3 separate regions of the Homo sapiens genome follow, and regions 1 and 2 are each linked to region 3. The links are contacts of gene promoters, found by promoter capture Hi-C in blood cells and fetal thymus (Javierre and others, 2016). All regions are on one chromosome and are shown on one strand. The core of a region is centred on a gene start or on the middle of the fragment in contact, and the rest is flanking DNA. Distances in the headings are between cores, read along the strand shown.

Region 1 (3,267 bases), core at 309-2,808, 350 kb before region 3:
GGTCTCAAACTCCTGGCCTCAAGTGATCCGCTCACCTGGAGCTCCCAAAGTGCTGGGATTACAGGTGTGAGCCACTGCACCGGGGCCATCTTGTTTAATTCTGCAGGACCCCTAAGAAGCGGGTAGCAAGATTTTCATGCTCATCTCACACGTGGGAAAAGGGCGCTCAGAGAGGGAAAGGTGCTTGCCCAAGAGAGCACAGCTGGTTAACCCATACCCAGGAGGCCTGCTGGGGGCTTACCTGGTGGGTGTCAGGACGAGGCAGAAGATGCCATAGGGATCCTCAGACAGCTTCTGCAAGATGGGAAGGACAAACGCTGCTGTCTTCCCACTGCCTGTCTTAGCACAGCCCAAGCAGTCTCGACCTGGGTTGGGGACAAAGCAGCATCAACACCCTCCATGTGTGGACAGCTGGGTTTCAGAGACCTTGCCCAGGACACACTGCCAGTGAGTGGCAGGCTGGACTGGAACCCATATCCATTTGACCCGAGATGCCCACAGCTTCCTACCACCTCGTTCTAACTCCGTCCAGGAGCACGTGAATTTGGGGAATCCAGAATTCCCTTCCCTCATATGCATCTTGTGCTCCCTGTTGACCCCTTCATTTGTTTATTTAATCCCTGACTTATCACATCTTAGGCTTCCTGTGGGCCTCTCTTTAATGGCGAAACTGGGTTGGGCTAGAGGAGCAGAGAGAAGACCTTCTCCTAGAGGAGCAATCACAGGACCAAGGAGTCCTGGATCTACCAGCAATTTTGACAGCCTCAACTTCTATTTGTAAAATAAAGATAGCAGTACCAGGTCTGCAGGATTTTGCGATACTATCGGACTAGTCATCCATCAAACCCTCCCTGTGCTGAGACTATGAAAATTTCAGAGATTACATCACTTGCGTACGAACACAAAGCGAGTCAGTCATGCAACCTAAATGCCAACACTGTCCAGTCGTCCTCCGGAACCCCGGATCTCCTGTAACGCCCGAGGTTGCCCCTCGCCTCGTGGGACCGGAATAAGCAAAGGTTGCGAGAAGGGAAAGGAGTCGAGAGGAGCGGAGAGGCCTCTTGGGGAAGGCCCTGGGCCATACTCACCCTCCAGGATGGCGGGGATGCAGCCGAGCTGCACGGGCGTGGGCTGCTTCAAACCCAGCTGCCGACATTGTTCCACGAGCCACGATGACAGCCCGAGCTCCGCGAAGCCTGCCATCCTTGTGGCCGCTTGTAGGGGCCCCTTGTAGGGGCCCGTGTGATCCGCGCTTCCGGCGCGCGCCGACGACGTCACGAGAAAAATCTTCCTGTTTATTGGATCTGCCTCCTGCGTGGTCCCACCCTCTCCAGCTCCCTCAGCCTATTCCCAGCCTCGACCGCATCCTTATCATGTTTCCCCGGATCCCATTGGCTTGCAGAAACACACTACAATTCCCGAGATGCTCTCCGTGACGCACTTACGCCTTCCGCCCCCTTGCATATTATTGTGGAGCTTCCCATTGGCTTACTTCGCCGCCGCTCGGAAAAAGTAAACTACATTTCCTAGCGTGCCCGTGTCTTGCTTCCGGCTGACGTGTCTTTCAGGAAGAGGAGCTGGTGAGAAGACAGCGAAATGGCGCCTCCGGCCCCCGGCCCGGCCTCCGGCGGCTCCGGGGAGGTAGACGAGCTGTTCGACGTAAAGAACGCCTTCTACATCGGCAGCTACCAGCAGTGCATAAACGAGGCGCAGCGGGTGAAGGTGCGGCCGCGCAGGGGCGCGGGGACGCTGGGGGCGGAGGCGGAGGACGCTTTCTGGTGGCCGCGAGCCGCGTTCTGCGTCTAAAAACTTTCTCTTTTCTTCTCGCGTTTTTTGGGCCACCTCTTCCACAGTTCAGTGAGGAGTAGTCACTGTCCCGTGACAGAACCCAGAGCAGTAACAGTTTACGGTACTGCTCACTCGTACAGCGTTCTCTCTGCGCCCTTGAAAGTGTTTTGAGTAAGGGAGGTGTTTATGCCACTGTAGTGACAATAAGCCTATTTTGTTCAGCCATACCTTCAGTTCCCGTGAGATGGAGACTGTTGCTTATCCTCATTTTACGGATGAGAACCCTAAAGTTCAGAGAAGGACGTTTCCCTGCCCAACCAGCCTGGTTATTTCTCCCAGAGCTTACCCATTCATTCATTCATTCTTCATTGAGCACTTTTTTGGACGGGCACTGTATTCCGCTGGACTCAGAATGATAAACACAGTTTCCCAGCGCAGTGGCTCAAACGCCTGTAATTCTGGCGCTTTGGGAGGCCGAGGCGGGCAGATCGCATGCGCCCAGGAGTTCGAGACCAGCTTGGGCAACGTGGAGAAACCATGAGTCTACCAAAAATTAGCCGGGCGTGGTGGCGGGCACTTGTAATCTCAGCTACCGGGAGGCTGAGACAGGAGAATCGCTTCAACCCGGAGGCCGAGGTTGCAGTGAACCGAGATCGCGCCACTGCACTCCAGCCTGGGTGACAAAGTTGTAAGAATTAAAGAGGAAAGAAACACGAAAGGTGGCTTGCCAGTCAAGACAGGTTTATTTTAGAGAAAACAAACCTGAGAGGCGCCTTCTGGCGGAGTTGGGTCAGAGTAACACTCTTTTACAGACTAAGAGTTTTTAAGGATTCAGGGTCGGAGAGTTTATCAGAGGCTTGAACTGCTTCTGTGTCTCTTCGTTGTGCTTATCTGGGAGGGAGAGTTGTGTGTCTGTTCCCATACATCTTTCTTTTTTCTTTTCTTTTCTTTTCTTTTTTTTTTTTTTTTGAGATGGAGACTCGCGCTGTTGCCAGGCTGGAGTGCAGTGGCGTGATCTCGGCTCACTGCAACCTCCGCCCCCAGGTTCAAGCAATTCTCCTTTCTCAGCCTCTCGAGTAGCTGGGATTACAGGCGCGCGCCACCATGGCCCGGCTAATTTTTGTATTTTTAGTAGAGACGGGGTTTCACCATGTTGGCCAGGATGGTCTCCATCTCTTGACCTTGTGATCTGCCCGCCTTGGCCTACCAAAGTGTTGGGATTACAGGTGTGAGCCACCGTGCCCAGCCTCCCATACATCTTTCTGCAGCTGCAGGCATACCCCCCTACTCTGCTTTTAGCTTGCCTATTTTAGTGCACCTGAAGGGAAAGGAATGTGCTTATTAAGGCCCACTGTTTTACTGGGGCCCGTTGTATGAAGGTGAAGTTTGGCAGTTACCCAAGAAATTTTCTTCCCACTCTCTCTCTGTCCGAGCTGTCTTTCTGTGTTTTACTGTCTCCTCTTTCTGGCTGCTTGTAGT
Region 2 (3,802 bases), core at 435-2,934, 290 kb before region 3:
CTCCGGCCGCGGCACAGGTGTTGCTCCTCTTCTCCAGTAGCGCTGGCTTGTTTAAACTGTTTCTGGAAGCTTCTCAAATCTCCCAGGTCCACCGCTAAGATTTTACAGACAAACTTAGGAAAGTATTCTTCAGTACTCCTTTAAAAGAATCTTGAAAAAAACAAAGAGAAAAACCCAAAACACCCTTATTTTCTTTAAATGAAGGCCCTCGGAGAACACAGGCAGCGCGACCTCGGCGCGTCCGGTAGGCGTGGACAGACGCGCCCTCCCGGGGCTCTGCCCCGCACGCTGCTGTCTTTGCAAGGAGCCTGCTCGGGCACAGAAATGCGAAGTTTTTTTTCCTGCTAAGACGTAGTCCCCTTTCAATCAAAGAGAAAAAGAAATAAAAGAACAGAGGAAAGGGCTACTCTGAGATGAGGGTCTTCCTCCCTCCGCCCTGGCCGCAGCCCCGATGGGACGGAGCGGGGCCTCCTGGTGGCCGCGGCTCCCGCGGGCCGGCCCCTCCTCCGCTCCCTCTGCTCCTCGCCGCCGCGGGCCAGCAGGGGGCGCTCGGCCTCGGCTCCTCTCCCTCGTGCGCTCTCCCTTCCTGTTGCTCACACAGTGGTGCTTCAGTTTTAGCAGTGGAAAACAGGTATCCGTTTATTTTTATTTTTTATTACCCAGAATAAGATGCTGATGGACTAAGCCACGTTGCTTAGCTCTTCCGCCGCCACCTGTCAGGAGGGAGAAGGGCAGGAGGCGGTGAGAGGCTGCGACCTGAGCCCCACAGGTACCCAGCACACAGGACAGTGAGGGAGAGCCCGAGCTGCCCTCCCCGACTCTGATGAGGAAACTGAGGTCCCGCGGTGGTCCCCGGAGCAGACAGGATGGGGTAGGGTGGGGTGAGGAGCCACCCTGACTAGCAGTGAAGGGCACAGGCCAAGCTGGCCCTGAGGGCCTATGACCCCCACCAGGCACAGCACACATTTCCAGATACCACCCCTCCAGTGCAGCTCCCTGGGGAGAGCCCCCTCCCATCCTTCTCCTTGAGGCTGGGGTGGGGCCAGGCCTGCTCCAGGGGGGCTTGCCTTTTAATACTGGGACAGCCCCGTCACCCCGCCATGCTGGTAAGCCCGCTCTCCCTGGTACGTGGAGTCCTGTGAGAGCGCCACGTCGATTTGTGATTTAAACTCGTCACCAAGGTAACTGTCCTGAAAGACAAGGTCAGGAGGTAAGCAAGCCACAGGCCAAGGGTGCTCACATCCACCCAGCCCTCAGCAGCCCCAGAGAAAAGAATGGAAAACCCGTCCCCAAACTAAGACCCAGGAGACCCACTCTGATGACCCCAGCCCAGGGACAGGTAATTCAGACAGTGGACATGGGCCAGGCCAGCTCTCTGGGGCTCTTCAGAGGGAATGTTTCAGGTGCATAGCCCCACCCTCACTCAGGTAAGTCCCGTCCCAGGGGCGGGCTCACCTGGGACAGCTCCGGCTGGGAGAGGCCGGGCTGGCTCATCTGGGAAGGCTGGCTCATGGAGATGTAGCCCTGCGTCAGGGCGCCCTGAGAGAAGGGCTGTGACGCCACATCCTGGCTGGCTTGGCTGTTGGGGAGGTTAGTCTGGCTGGGTCCAGGAAGCCCAAAGCGGTTCTTCTGGCGTCCCCCACGACCAGTCTTGCCTTTCGGGGTGCCTCGCCCTGAAAGACAGCAGTCCAGGGTGATCCGAAGGAGGCCAGGGCCTCGCAGACAAGCACACCCTCAAGAGCTCTCAGGAGGGCCACACCCAGCCGCAGCCACAGATGCTCACCTGCAGCAGGCCCGTTGGCTTGTCCAAAATAGCCAGGCGGTGGCATGGGTGGCATGACCAGGTTGAAGGGGATGGGAATGTTCATGGCAGCCACGTGGCTAGGGCCGGCACTGATCATGCCAATCTGGTCATGGGTCTGGAAGTACATGCTGGAAGGCCGGCCTGCAAATCACAGTGGAACACGGCAGGTGTCACCTGCCTCGGTCAAACCCCAGCGATACCCCACCCACCCCACCAGCCAGTCAGCCGGAGCTGCACATCTGTCCTGGCTCTGCCCAGGCTGAAGATGCGGATTCGCAGGACTCCATGTTAACTACAGCAGCCTGCCTGGGGCTGGGTGCTTGGGCAGGCACCTTCCCCGAGGAGAGTCTGCTGGGAATCATTGGCCTACACAGATCTTAAAAACTGAAAATTGGGGCCGGGCGTGTTGGCTCAAGCCTATAATCCCAGCACTCTGGGAAGCCGAGGTGGACCACCTGAGATCAGGAGTTTGAGACCAGCCAGGCCAACATGGCGAAACCTCGTTTCTACTAAAAACACAAAAACTAGCCGGGCATGGTGGTGGGTGCTTGTAATCCCAGCTACTCGGGAGGCCAAGGCAGGAGAATCGCTTGAACCCAGAGGGGGAGGTTGCAGTGAGCCAAGATCACACCACTGTACTCCAGCTTGGGCAACAGAGCGAGACTCGGTCTCCAAAAAAAAAAAAAAAAAAAAAAACACCTGCAAATTGGCCAGGTGCAGTGACTCACGCCTGTAATCCCAGCACTTTGGGAGGCTGAGCAGAAGGACTGCTTGAGGCAGGAGTTTGAGACCAGCCTGGACAACATAGGGAGACCCTGTCTCTAAACAAAAAAAAGAAAATAAATGAAAATCACCCTGCATTTACCAAAGGAAAAAAAAAATCCTTTTTATGAAAATGTTCTATTTGTACTACATGCAGTCCCTGCCCTACCAAAAGGCAAGAAAAAGCTAACTAGCTTGATCACCAGGAAACACAAATGAATAAACTCTGGTTAAAGACAAACACCCCAGGAGTGTTCCGGGGCTAGAGATGCCCTAGGGGCGGGGAGGCCAAGGGAGCCAGGCACCGCCCTTGAGGGGAAGGAAAGATGGGGGCACCTAAAGCTGCAGCCATGGGAACGGCCAGCATCCCGGTGTGAGGACAAGGGGTCGGCCAGGTCCCCTGCTGAGCGACTCACCCTGGCTGCTCCGATCATAGACGGAGCCTGGGATGATGGCCTCCCGGGCATCATACATGGCTGTGGTCATGAAGCGGGCTCCCTGCGAAGGTTTAGATAGGTGAGGAATTTGTCATCTCAACAGAAGGAACAACTTCCCACGGGCCCGGTGGCCTGGGAGGTGGCAGGTATGCAGCTGTGAGGTGTTGACACTGTGCCAGGGGCTCTCCCTGGAGACAGGAGGGAGCTGCTGTCTCATGGCCTCTGGGTCTCGCCTGCCCTCCTCGGCAGACCTGGGCTCTGATGCTGACCCTTGGGCCTCAGCTCAGGAAGCTTCACACCCCCTCACTACCAGATCACCCCGGGCTTGCAAAGCTTCCAACTGCCCGTGTCCAAGGTCCCAGGCTGCTGCATGCAGCACAGCAGCCCTGAGCCCAATTCCCAGAGGCCACCCAGGACTTAGCGGCCCCAAGCCAAAAATGCCACACACGGCTCGGGAGACAAGAAGTGGGCTGGCCCACCCTCCCCTAGGAGAGCCCACCCTCCCCTAGGAGAGCCCTCCCTCAGCTCACGGGCACACGGGCCAAGCTGGCACGTTCCCAGCAGTGTTTTGGGCCCGGGTTTCTCCGTGCTGCCCTGCTGTCCTGTGCAGGCGCTCACCGGGTTGATAGTGTTGACCAGCTTCCGTGGCTTGCTGAACTGCATGAGGCTCTCACGCAGGTTGTTGAGCGGCCCCTCCACCAGCACCTTCTGCTCCTTATAGTAGTTCAGCAGGTGGTTCCAGAGCGGCTGCTTTGATAGTGCCTTCGGGTTGCCCACAATGATGACGCCATACCTGCAA
Region 3 (3,701 bases), core at 386-2,885:
CAGCACAACCCACACAGGACTGAGACTCCCCTGGGCAGAGAGGGACTCCCAGTTCACAGCCAGAGCCCCCACACCCAGCCCTACTCACCCTCCTTGTCTTGAATTTTGGCTTTGACATTCTCAATGGTGTCACTGGGCTCGACCTCAAGGGTGATGGTTTTGCCAGTGAGGGTCTTCACAAAGATCTGCATGTTTGCGTCTGCAGGAGGAAGGGAGGCAGGATAGACTGGTGAGCAATGCATGCCTGAGTAGCACAAGCTCAGGTGCCTACACCACAGTTGCTATCCCTTTGCCTGCACCAAGTCCAACTGGTCCTGCCCCAGTACCTGTCTTCCTTTCACTCCTCCAAGCCTGGCCCTGCTAGGCTTCTCACACACCCTGGCCTGTAGTCTAAACATGTCCTGGAACTAAAGACCACATGTCCTCCACCCTCCTGACCGCACGGGTGCTCTTCAGGAACACAGACTGTGGTTATTCTCCTTAGGTTTAGCGGCGGAAGGACTCGTCAGTATCTCCTGATGGAATAAGTACCCTTTGGCATCATCTTGCTAGATCCATCTTCCCTGAAGGCGGTCCCACCCTCTTCCACGGCAGCCAGGTCCTGATCTGCACAGGCTGCTCCTGCTGCCAGCCTGGATGGGAAGCCATCCCCTACAACACACATGCCTTCCTGTCGCAGCCTCTCTCCTCTCTAACTCCAAGCTGGAGCACCCAACACTCTTAGCTTCCTTCTCAATTACACCAAAACTCTCCAGACCCCACTTCTTGCCTTGACCCCAAACCACGAACATCACTTAGTATCTACCAACCACCTGCCAAGCATTGTTCACATATAAAAGTTGACTTAAAAAGACAAAGAATCGACCGGGCGCAGGGGCTCATGCCTGTAATCCCAGCACTTTGGAAGGCCGAGGCAGACGGATCATTTGAGGTCAAGAGTTCAAGATGAGCCTGGCTAACATGGTGAAACTCCGTCTCTACTAAAACTACAAAAATCAACTGGGCGTGGTGGCAGGCGCCTATAATCCCAGCTACTCGGGAGGCTGAGGCAGAAGAATCGCTCGAGCCCGGGAGGTGGAGATTGCAGTGAGCCGAGACCGCACCACTGAACTCCAGCTTAGGCGACAGAGCAAGACTCCATCTGAAAAAAATACAAATAGTCTAAAGAAAAGTCTAAAAAGCAGACACTACCACCAGCTCCTCCTTACAGACGTAGTAATGGAGCCAGGTATGAAGACTCAGCTCGAGAAATTTAGTATTTCCAAAGCGACTGACGCAGTGACTGGCAGAGTTAACGCTACACGCTCAATACCCCTCTCTCATTAACTCGGATCTGCCCCGAGGACCTCTTCCCGCCCGAGGCCTCGTGGGGTCACGCTGGCAGGCAGAGCAGGCAGGCTCCTCTCCAAAACGGCGCTCGCCTCCTGGGCCCCGGTCTGGGCTCCGAGCCGTGGCCTCGCGAGCCCTGCCCAGCCACCCTGCCGAGACTGGCCCGCATGAGCCAGCTCAGGGCCGCCTCTTCTGCCGCCCAGGCCCCTGCAGCCTCCCGCAGCCCCCAACCCGCTCTCGGCCCGGCGCGAACCCGCACGACCGCCGCCACCAACCAGCTCGGCCGCCTCGCTGAAGAAAAAGAAGATAGCGGAACCGGAAACCACCTAATCGCCGCCGAAAGCGCTTGCGCACGGAGCACGCCGGACGCCTGCGTCACAATTCGCGCCGCGCCTTGGGCCCCGCCCTGCCGCCATCTTGGATGCTGGCGAACGAAGCCGCAGCGCACGTGGGTGAAGGTCGCCCACCCGCTTCCGGTTGTGGGCCCCGCCCGCCGAGTCACTTGAGACGATTGCACCTCTCCCCGTGTTTGCGTCCGCTGCCTCTAGGCCACTGACAACCGCTGGCGGTTGGCGGGCCCTCAGCGAATAGCTGAACGGAGTAGAGGAGAATGTTTTCTAATAAAGCAAAGGTATTAAGCAGAGGACTGCGGGTCCAGGACGCAGGAGTCGGGGCTGGGAAAGCACCTAACACCTGGAATCGGTTATTATAAAGCTCTCGGCCGCTGTGCCTGAATGGATTTCAGGACAGCAGCAGGGAGAGCAGACGGTACTACCGCATTCGCCCAGAAAGGTGGTGGTGCCTGACAAAAGGTGTCAAGCGGGACTCAGGATTTTTTTTTTTTTTTTTTTTGAGACGGAGTTTCGCTCTCGTTGCCCAGGCTGTAGTGCAATGGCGCGATCTCGGCTCACCGCAACCTCCGCCTCCTGGGTTCAAGCAATTCTCCTGCCTCAGCCTCCCGAGTAGCTGCGATTACAAGTGTGCGACACCATGCCTGGCCACTTTTGTATTTTTAGTAGAGACGGGGTTTCTCCATGTTGGTCAGGCTGGTCTCAAACTCGCGACCTCAGGTGATCCGCCCGCCTTGGCCTCCCAAAGTGCTGGGATTACAGACGTGAGCCACTGCAGTGTCTCTTTTCAGTGTAGGATCCAGATTTGTGGGTGGTTAAAAAGTGCCAGGGCGGGACCTGGGTCCGGTGACTCACGCCTGCACTTTGGGAGGCCGAGATGTGCGGATCACCTGAGGTCGGGAGTTCGAGACGAGCCTGACCAACATGGAGAAACCGCATCTCTACTAAAAATACAAAATTAGCTGGGCGTGGTGGCGCATGCCTGTAATCCCAGCTACTCAGGAGGCTGAGGCAGGAGAATCGCTTGAACCCGGGAGGCAGAGGTTGCAATTAGCCGAGAGAGTGCCATTGCACTACAGCCTGGGCAACAAGAGCAAAACTCCGTCTCAAAAAAGAAAAAAAAAATTACAAAAATTTTTCAGGTGTGGTGGCGGGTGCCTGTAATCCCAGCTACTCAGGAGGCTGAGGCAGGAGAATCGCTTGAATCCGGGAGGTGGAGGTTGCAGTGAGCTGAGTTCACGCCACTGCACCCAGCCTGGGTGACAGAGTGAGACTCCATCTCAAAAAAAAAAAAAAAAAAAAAAAGTGCCACGGCGGGTGCAGTGGTTCACACTTGTAATCCCAGCACTTTGGAAGGTCAAAGAGGGAGGATTACTTGAGGTCAGGAATTCACGACCAGCCTGGAAGACATAGTGAGACCCTGTCTCTACAAAAAAAAGTTTTATTTTGAACTATCCAGGTGTGGTGGTGCGCACCTGCAGTCCCAGCTACTTCGGAGGCAGGAGGATTGCCTGAACCCATAGGTTTGAGATTGCAGTGACCCATGATTCAGCCACTGCACTCCAGCCTGGGCAACAGAGAGGTGCTGTCTCAAAAACAAAACAAAAAAAAAAAGTGCTGAGTACAGAGAAGATGGGGAGCAATGAGAAGTTACCTATAGGCTTAACAGGGGTACCTGTTTATTTCCTTGAACATTTGCAGGCACTACTATACCAGGCAAAAGCAGACACTCTCACGTCTGGGAAGATGCCTTTAAGAACCTAATTTCCTTTTCTTTTTTGAGACAACAGTTTTGGTCTTTTTGCCCAGGCTAGAGTGCAGTGGTGCGATCTTGGCTCACTGCAACCTCTGCCTCCTGGATTCAAGCAATTCTGCCTCAGCCTCCCAAGTAGCTGGGATTACAGGTGTACACCACCACACCCAGCTAATTTTTATATTTTTGGTAGAGATGGGGTTTCACCATGTTGGCCAGGCTGGTCTCGAACTCCTGACCTCAGGTGATCCACCCACCTCGGCCTCCCA

The links. Contacts are between HindIII fragments. The CHiCAGO score rates a contact against its expected background, and 5 or more counts as called.
Region 1: the fragment with the promoter of COPE here is called in contact with the fragment with the promoter of UBA52 in region 3 in 1 of 17 cell types (neutrophils); the score reaches 5.3 in neutrophils.
Region 2: a fragment that was not itself captured here is called in contact with the fragment with the promoter of UBA52 in region 3 in 1 of 17 cell types (M0 macrophages); the score reaches 6.3 in M0 macrophages.

Annotation. Positions count from the first base shown.
Region 1 is chr19:18,917,678-18,920,944 of GRCh38, reverse strand. It overlaps COPE (coat protein complex I subunit epsilon), which reads left to right and starts at 1,558. Exons shown (of 10, transcript NM_007263.4): 1 at 1,558-1,722. The coding sequence starts at 1,597. It overlaps DDX49 (DEAD-box helicase 49), which reads right to left and starts at 1,230. Exons shown (of 13, transcript NM_019070.5): 1 at 1,089-1,230; 2 at 242-365. The coding sequence starts at 1,203. RefSeq lists enhancers at 956-1,555, 2,458-3,267 and a silencer at 1,636-1,825. The HindIII fragment of the contact is 20,861 bases long and covers 1-3,267 here.
Region 2 is chr19:18,863,432-18,867,233 of GRCh38, reverse strand. UPF1 (UPF1 RNA helicase and ATPase) reads right to left here. Exons shown (of 24, transcript NM_002911.4): 19 at 3,622-3,796; 20 at 2,983-3,064; 21 at 1,784-1,945; 22 at 1,456-1,673; 23 at 1,068-1,190; 24 at 1-713. The coding sequence ends at 1,071. Among named protein-coding and RNA genes, the nearest start is that of CERS1, 31 kb to the left of the region's middle. RefSeq lists a silencer at 419-618. The HindIII fragment of the contact is 3,225 bases long and covers 72-3,296 here.
Region 3 is chr19:18,569,791-18,573,491 of GRCh38, reverse strand. It overlaps UBA52 (ubiquitin A-52 residue ribosomal protein fusion product 1), which reads right to left and starts at 1,635. Exons shown (of 5, transcript NM_001033930.3): 1 at 1,583-1,635; 2 at 89-199. The coding sequence starts at 191. RefSeq lists enhancers at 270-946, 1,585-1,924, 2,135-2,254, 1,625-2,301. The HindIII fragment of the contact is 13,368 bases long and covers 1-3,701 here.